Regions from separate parts of the Homo sapiens genome. Here regions 1 and 3 are each linked to region 2. Evidence: promoter capture Hi-C in 16 types of primary human blood cells and fetal thymus (Javierre and others, 2016). All regions are on one chromosome and are shown on one strand. Each heading gives the region's core, a stretch centred on a gene start or on the middle of the fragment in contact. The rest is flanking DNA. Distances are from core to core; before and after follow the strand shown.

Evidence for each region. The method cuts DNA at HindIII sites, captures the fragments that hold promoters and counts their contacts. A CHiCAGO score of 5 or more calls a contact.
Region 1: a fragment that was not itself captured here is called in contact with the fragment with the promoter of HDAC4 in region 2 in 1 of 17 cell types (neutrophils); the score reaches 9.0 in neutrophils.
Region 3: a contact is called between a fragment that was not itself captured here and the fragment with the promoter of HDAC4 in region 2, in 11 of 17 cell types (naive CD8 T cells, naive CD4 T cells, activated CD4 T cells and 8 more). The highest score is 13.0, in naive CD8 T cells.

The regions. Positions count from the first base shown.
Region 1 is chr2:239,667,831-239,670,552 of GRCh38, reverse strand. No RefSeq gene overlaps it. Among named protein-coding and RNA genes, the nearest start is that of LINC02991, 91 kb to the right of the region's middle. The HindIII fragment of the contact is 7,126 bases long and covers 1-2,722 here.
Region 2 is chr2:239,399,764-239,402,561 of GRCh38, reverse strand. HDAC4 (histone deacetylase 4) reads left to right here and starts at 1,542. Exons shown (of 27, transcript NM_001378414.1): 1 at 1,542-1,584. HDAC4-AS1 (HDAC4 antisense RNA 1) reads right to left here and starts at 1,126. Exons shown (of 2, transcript NR_135575.1): 1 at 1,026-1,126; 2 at 205-487. RefSeq lists an enhancer at 334-463 and silencers at 594-863, 1,134-1,253, 1,274-1,713, 1,724-1,893. The HindIII fragment of the contact is 12,493 bases long and covers 1-2,798 here.
Region 3 is chr2:239,139,081-239,141,854 of GRCh38, reverse strand. HDAC4 (histone deacetylase 4) reads left to right here. Exons shown (of 27, transcript NM_001378414.1): 9 at 2,059-2,171. Among named protein-coding and RNA genes, the nearest start is that of HDAC4-AS2, 53 kb to the left of the region's middle. The HindIII fragment of the contact is 407 bases long and covers 1,266-1,672 here.

The sequences.
Region 1 (2,722 bases), core at 10-2,509, 270 kb before region 2:
GAGGCAGATGCAGCTACAGCAGGAGACGGCACATGAGGCAGAGGGAAGAGAAGTGTCCTGGCACCTCAACTTCTTCTGTCTTATCATCTTCCAACTGTTCCTCCGTGGCTGAAACTATCCAGAAATCAGAGGCAGAGCCTGGGGAACTGCAGTTCCTTACAGCACAGGCCAGGAGCAGGGTTGGGCATGGAGCTGGGCATCCAGCGAGGAGCCACCATCCCCGAGTTCTTCATCCTCACTCGTCTCATGTTCGCCCTCCCGCCCAGTTCCACATCCGGCTCCGCGTCCCTTACCTGCTCCTGCACAGCCACCTTCTGGCCTTGCTTGGGGAGGTGGGTGCCCCATGCTCGGCATCCTTGGCCCTGGCTGGGCTGGCAGACACCAGAGAAAAGCAGCAGGAAAGGGGCCTGCGGCACATTCATCCTCTAACTCCCTCCTCACCTGTGGCAGCTTTGCAGCGGCATCCTCTCCACGAGCTGAGGGCCTCAGTCCTGCCTGGCATCCCTCTCCCACGGTGGCCACAGGTCGCTCTCACCACCCCGCCATGTCACTGTTCTCAGCCCCAGATTTCTCTAACTCTGCCCCCACTTCTGACCAGGGCCCTTCATACACTCAGTCACCTCCTCTGAGGGCGCTGCCTGGTGTCCTGTGGGGCCCCGGCTGAGACCAACTTGCCCAGTGTTCTTCAGAGACAGCCCCACAGGGCACTAGAGGGAGGGAAGGCTTCCCAGCCCAGCCTCATCACCCTCCCGGCATCCCCTCTCTGGTTGCCACCCTCACACAGGGCACACAGCTCCCAGATGTTCCCTCCTTCCCCTTGTGGCGAGCCCTGCTTGTCAGCTCACTGCGGATTGCTAATTCAAGAAGAACCGTGGATGCTTCACCTCCCAGGGACCCTGCGTCCCCTGGGGCAGAGCCCTTACAGCCCATGCTCCAGCTGGGTTCATTCATAATTGGGGCCATCTGTGAGTACCAGGAAGGAGCTGGGAGACAGAGGGGACTCCCTCAGGCTCAGGCCCTTCTAGAAGCTGGCCCCCATGTCAGGAACTCAGACACATTTCTGTAGGTGCTGCATCCCCCTAGAGTTTGGGAGCTGGTGTTGCAAAGTGGGCGAGAGGCTGTAGTGTTGCAGCAGCCATTTCCAGGGAAAGAGGGAGGTTTTGGGGAGGGCTTGTCCACCCAGGAAAGCATGATGGCGTCCCCAGGGCTCCAGAGGTCTTGGTGTCGGGCAGGGCAGGAGGTGGCTGATGGCACATGGCTGCTGTCATCTCACCTCTGTGGTCTGGTTGACTTCATGTGCCACTGAAGAGGTGAGGGCTTCCCATACCAAAGGCCAAAGGTTGAACCTTTGCCCAATAATCCAGAAACTGGAAGCACCGCTAAGGAGAGCAGGGGCGTCTGCTCTGTGTGTACCCTGAGTTGCAGTGAGGCTCAAGGCTTTTCTAGGCAGTCGTGTTTAGCCAGAGCCTCTCCATATTTGAGGTGTGTGCATAAGTTAGAGCATGTGTGCAGGCCTGTGTGTGCATGTGTGTGAGTGTGCATGTGGAGGTGTGCTTGTGTGTATACATATATGTCAGTATATGCATGTATATCAGGGTGTGTGCATGCCTGTGTGTGTGTATGCATGTCTGTGTGTGCATGTGGAGGTGTGCTCATGTGTGTATCCATACATGTGAGTATATGCATGTGTTTGAGGATGTGTGCATGCCAGTGTATATACACATCTGTGTGTGCATGTGGAGGTGTGCTCATGTGTGTATACATACATGTGAGTGTATGTGTGTTTGAGGGTGTGTGCCTGCCTGTGTGTGCATACACATGCGTGTCTGTTTGCATGTGTGGAGACCGCAGCGTTATCCTATCCTCATCAGGTACAGAGTATAAGGAAACTGCCTACCCATATGCACTGTGTCAACTCATCCTCCTTCCAAGGTGCACGTGGGCAGGGTGTGCCAGCCAACCCCTCTGGACCAGCTTTTCTCTGCACTAGGAAACCCATGTAATCCCATCCCTTCTTCTGGGGCCTTGGCCTGGACCAGTTTGGTGAGAAGTGATTTAAACTCAAGAGACATTCAAATGCTGGAAATGCCCAGGCCTGTGGGCCCCTCTGGGTGCTCTAATCATTGTGTTTACTGAGCAAGCCATGGTAGGGGCCATGCGGGGCCCAGCCAAGGAGCACTGCCACCCGTTGCAGCCCATTCACCACTGTTGTCAGCAGGTCCTTTGCAGAGTTTGTTTCTCTTGGCTGGAGGAGGAGGGAAGGGAGACCGAGGGGTCTGGCTGAGGGAAGACAACACTCTCTGGAGAGCTCCTCCCTTGCCCGCCAGGCAGGAATTGCCGAGCTGTCCCAGAGTTGGGAATGGGCAAATTGTCTTCATCCAAAACCCATGCAGACGCCACCCAACCTGGCTTGGCTCTCCCATAGAGAAGCTAAAAGCAAGCCCCTCTTATACAGAAAGGTTGGCAGGGGCCCCGTGATGAACGGAGGTGGGAGGGGGATTGTTTGGGTCTCGACAACCAGGCAACAATCAAGTTTGTTTGTTTGTTTCTCTTCAAGACAAAATGCCCTGAGCAGTCATCTTCAGTGCTTGCTGTTCCGGGAATGCACAGGCTATTTTTACTGCACCCAAAAGAAAATATAAATTCTCTGTCTTCTGAACCAATGCCATTGTTCTGTGTCCGTGGACCCCTATGGATGCACATGTGTCTCAGCCCATCCTCT
Region 2 (2,798 bases), core at 293-2,792:
CCTGTTTCATTCTACATGAAAATTAGATAGTGCACCGTTTCCATCAGCAGCCAAGTCTCCAAAACCCCGTAATTGCTCTCCTTTTCTTCAGCTGTATCTTGTTTTAAAGTTCTCTAATTCACCATTCCTTTCCTTCTAAGTTTAGCCTAAGCATTTCTTGCAATGACCAAAGTTTTCTAATTATTAATGAGATATTTAAGGAAATGTAAAATTGGCATTTTTATTTTGCTAACTGTATTTTTATCCACATAACTAGTTTCCCCCACCAAGAATCACAGGTCGAGAATGCTGTAAAAACGGATCCTTTCTCAGCTCCTAAAAGGAATGGCCTACAATCGAAGCGAACGCGCATCTCCGCCAGGTCCGCAACCACAGGCCCACGCCGTCGGGCCCCACGAACCGGCGCGCGCTGTCAAAGGCGCTTCCTCCCTGGAACGCGGGATTCCGGGGACAGTGTGTGCACTCAAGTTGAAAAGTTGTCATACTCCTGTTGGAAAGAAACGGAAACATCACCACCAGGAGGGTGGCCACTGAAGACCCTCGCCGACACCTGCTGGCAACCAAAGGCGCTTCCGGGGATCTACGGGCCGACCTGTAACTCAACACAAGCCTCCCAAGCCCTGCGGCCTTAAAACAACGCCCACCCGGGCGGTGCGCCGTTCCCGCCACCTCCACGCCTGCCTGGACCCGGACTCGAGACCCTGGCGGCGGGCCGGGCTCCCTCCGCCTGAGCAGGGACGCGGCGAGCGCATCCCACGACCCTCGGCAGCCGTTGCAGGCCTGGCGGACCTACACCCCACACCCTCACGGCCGCGTTCCCGCCGCGGGGCAGGGCGAGGCCCACGGCGCCTGCGCACTCAGTGACCGGGCCGCCCTGCGCCTCCGTGCGCACGCAGCACCACGTGACCCACTGCCAGTATCCAAGATGGACGCCGCGGCGAGGCCTGGCCGGCTCCCCGCGTTAGCCTGCACCCCATTGTGTGCCCTCTAAGCGCGAATTAGGCTCGCAGACATGCGGTGCTGACCGCTAGGCAGCCATGCGGGCTACCGAGTGCGACCGGACACGGCCGGGGCCCGTGTTTACGGCCACTACTGGCCCCCGGTCCCTGCGCCTCCTCAACCGCGAAGCACCCAGCGGCTGGCGCCTGGAGCGTCTTTTGGTACGCCCCACCCTCTAGAATTGGCAGCTCCAGCAGCCAATGAGGTCCAGGACGCGTGCGGGGAGGCGGGCAGGGGTGGAGCCTCTCTGCCGCTCATAGGGCATCCGGCCCCGCGGTTGAGCAGCCGCTGGGCGAGGGGTGGGAGCAGACGGGCTGTGCGCAGGTTTCAGCGGGCCAATGGAAGGCCGGCCAGGCGCCCGGGGCGGGCGGGCGGGAGGCGGGGCCGAGCCGTAATTGACGAGCTCTTCATTAGAAACCAGGCGGGAGGGCGGGGCCCGCAAGGGGAGGTGACGCAAGGCTGCCGCAGCCAATGGTTGGCGAGCCGCCGGCTGGCTGGGCGGGGCCGGGCCGGCTGACGGGCGTGCGGGGTGGCCTATCGCCGCCTGGCTCGACGCTGGAGTGGGGAGAAGCATCATGGTTCAACGTGGGTCAATTTTTTGTGAATGAGGAGGGGAGGTTGTGGGGCCGCCGCCGCGGAGCACCGTCCCCGCCGCCGCCCGAGCCCGAGCCCGAGCCCGCGCACCCGCCCGCGCCGCCGCCGCCGCCGCCCGAACAGCCTCCCAGCCTGGGCCCCCGGCGGCGCCGTGGCCGCGTCCCGGCTGTCGCCGCCCGAGCCCGAGCCCGCGCGCCGGCGGGTGGCGGCGCAGGCTGAGGAGATGCGGCGCGGAGCGCCGGAGCAGGGCTAGAGCCGGCCGCCGCCGCCCGCCGCGGTAAGCGCAGCCCCGGCCCGGCGCCCGCGGGCCATTGTCCGCCGCCCGCCCCGCGCCCCGCGCAGCCTGCAGGCCTTGGAGCCCGCGGCAGGTGGACGCCGCCGGTCCACACCCGCCCCGCGCGCGGCCGTGGGAGGCGGGGGCCAGCGCTGGCCGCGCGCCGTGGGACCCGCCGGTCCCCAGGGCCGCCCGGCCCCTTCTGGACCTTTCCACCCGCGCCGCGAGGCGGCTTCGCCCGCCGGGGCGGGGGCGCGGGGGTGGGCACGGCAGGCAGCGGCGCCGTCTCCCGGTGCGGGGCCCGCGCCCCCCGAGCAGGTGGGCTCCGGGCCGCCGGGAGTGAGGGCGGGGGCGGGCGGGCGCCGGGGCCGGCCGGGCGCCGTTTATGTAACTTTGTCAAATGCTGTGAGTTTGCAGAAAAACGTCCCTGCCGGGGGTCCGCGGCCCCGCGCTTGTCGTCGCCGCTGCGAGCGCCCGGGGGGTCGCGGGAGGGCGGGGGGCTGCCCGGGACCCGCTCGGCTCAGCCCGCAGGGCGCCAGCAGGCCGAGACGGGGCCCGGTCCCGCTCGGGGGTGGGATCCGCGTTTGCCGGCGTTGCGAAAACACACCACGGAATCATAAGCAAATTATCTCGTATTTACATTGAGCGTTGAATTATTTGACACTGTTATAGGAGGAGACCGTGCGTATCAGTTGGAAAGGCCGGGGGTGGAACCCAGTGTACTCATTTAATGCACATCAAAAATTTGTAATAACTTGAGGCAGCTGATATGAGTGTTTTCTTTATTGCATGTTGTAAATTGACCTGCTGTGACACAGTTTTCAAATAAAGCGTTGCAGAAATTAAACTTAAGTTATTTTAAAACTAATGACTTTCTTCACTAAATCCTAATTGCATGACTGTAGAGACCTACCTAATTGCTTGCTGAGAG
Region 3 (2,774 bases), core at 220-2,719, 260 kb after region 2:
AAAAAATAAAATTAACCTCGTTGAGTTAAAAGTGGGTGGAAAGTTACACATATAATTTTTACCGCCCCAAAAAGTTGTCCGGACTCCCCAGGCACATGCGTGAGGGTATTTATCTGACGACACAGCTGGGAGGCACCCATTACAGGGAAGATCTGCTGGATCTTGGTGTGTAGCTGGAGACAGCTTGACATCAGAGAGCAGGGGTCTAGGGTGGGCTACGGTGGGCTGCAGGTGGGGCAGAGATGGGAGAGTTGGAGGGGCCTGGAGAAGGCGGGTCCTGCTTTCTTGAGTGAAATGCAAACACTGGCTCAGCCCAGGTGGCATTCTCAGAATGCCCACTCACAGTGCAAATAACATGGCCTCGGCAGCGGGAGAAGCCTACCTCTGGAGTTAGTGTCTGGTGGAAGTGAGAGGGTGAGAGGGCCAGGGAAAGAAAGAGGATGGGGTAGGGTCGGGACCCAGTCCTGTATTCATGCTCAATGCCCAGGACAGTGAGCTGACCCCACACTCTTTTGAGCTCCAAGAGCCATGGGGAGCGGCTGGTGTAGGGCTTCTGGGTGGACACCCTGGTTTGCCCTTGGGAGGTTTAGACTGCCCTGCTGTTGAGGGCAAGATGTTCCCAGGGTGTTCCTGGTGGGCAGCGTGGTCAACAGAGGAGGTGCGCCTTCACCACCCAGCTGGGTTAACTCTGGTATGCAGACGCCCATGACAGTTCCCTCAAGCCACGTGGCCTGGGACGAGTGATGTTGCTGCTCCATGCCTCCATCTCCTCTTCTGGGAAACGGGGTCATAATGGCACCTTCCTCAAACAGTGACTGAGAGATGGATGAGCTAATAAAGGCAAAGTTTGGAATCAGGTCTGCCAGGTTGGGGGAGCTGTGGGTGGCTTTACCTGTTCCCCCACCCTCCTCATCCTCCTCACTGTGGCTCGGGGCTATATTTGCAGAGTCACCACCTCCAGCAGGCGTGGATACCACGTGAGTCAGCATGAGTGGGCACCTGCGTCCTCGTGGGCTCCAGGAGGACGCGGGCAGCAAGCAGACCGTGGAGGAGGCTTTGCTGGGGATGGCTCCGTTGAGGGGCTGCTTGGGGAAAACATCCCTTAACCTCCCCTCCAGGGCCCCCACCATGTCCCTTCCTTCTGACCTGTATGCGCTGCGCATATAGGTTGGGGCGAGGTTCTGAGCACCCAGAGTCGTTGCTGAACAGCAGACGCCTAGAGTTCTCGAGGCAAATGGGTCACATTGTGTTTTCTTTGGAAAGCTTTAACCAGATGATGCCATTGTTAAAATGCCGTTAAACTAAACATATGACAAGCCAAACAAATCCTTGTGTGAATATCGAGAGCCTCAGCGGCCTCCCACGGTGGATGTGTGTGCCCAAAATAGCAGCAGACCCCTTCAGAGGTGAAGGGATCTTTGGATTGGACGTGGCCCCTTTTGGAAGTCACATTCAGTCAGAGCGGAACCTGGTCTCATTAACCAGGGTCAAGCCGCACCGATGGTTAAAGATCCTCTAAGACTGTCCGAGCGTGTGTTTTCCAGTAGCACGGATAGATCTCAGGAGACACTGGCTATATTTTCCCCTGGATGCTTGCTGCTATGTAGGGAAAATGAGAGGATTCAGCTCAGAGTGAACACTAATAGTAGGTTGCTTTATTTTGAACTAAGCTTTTTATAGTGAGCACAGGAAAGCTGACCTTTTGCTTTTCAAAGTCACTTAGCTTCTGCATTTTCTGGTCTTCTGTTGTTAGGTCACTAATAAGTGTTTAAGGATTTATCTTTTTGGTGTTTAAAATTGTCTTGAAAATCAAACGAGGTATAAAATTGGTAACGTACATGTCCTAGAAAAAGTGAAGTCAGTGGCAAAACTGGAAAATCAGAAATCAGCATCATACTTTCTTTTTTGAAACCATGGCCATGTTCTTTTTGTTGGGACTTCTGCCTGTCGCAAGCTAACGAGCAGGTCCGTGGAAGGCACCGGGCATTCGGGCCACAGGTCAGCACGGCCCTCCCTCCGCATGGAGTAACACTCACCAGGGTATTTCTGCCTCCGCAGACTCCGCGTGCAGCAGCGCCCCAGGCTCCGGACCCAGCTCACCCAACAACAGCTCCGGGAGCGTCAGCGCGGAGAACGGTATCGCGCCCGCCGTCCCCAGCATCCCGGCGGAGGTCAGTGCGAAGCGTTTGTCCTGTGTCCTACGGCTAGAGTCGGACTCGGGACGGATGAGCTTGAAATGACCCCACTTTGCACTTGCCCTTCACTCTTCACCTTCCAATTTGGGGTGAGGGAAAGTGGCCTGTGAGCCATCCTAAAAAGGACGCAGTTGGAGGTTACTCTCCTGCCTTCCTCTCATCACAGACATCTCCTTTCATTATGAACACGCTAGTTCCAGGCACGTCGGGGACAGCCCTGAGCCTGGTCCTTTCTCCTGACCTCTTCCAGAGCAGATGTCACTAGATGGTGTCCCAGCACAAGCCCACGCATGGCAGGTGCTCTAGGTGGACAGGATCCCTGCTGCCCAGCTCGCTGTGGTCGCCAGTGCTCTGAGGGTGGCTGAGAGGCCGTGGGCACGTGGGTATAGTTGCTAAGTGAGACTTAACATTTTTTATTTTGTATTGAGAAATACACAACACGATGTCGGCCAACAAACTATGTGTCAGGGCCGACTGGAGCGTCACCCGTGGTCAGCATGGCAGGGCCGGCCAAAGCCACAGAGCGGGGAACTTTTCCAGGCATCACGGGAACCAGGCATCTCAGACCGCAGAGCTCAG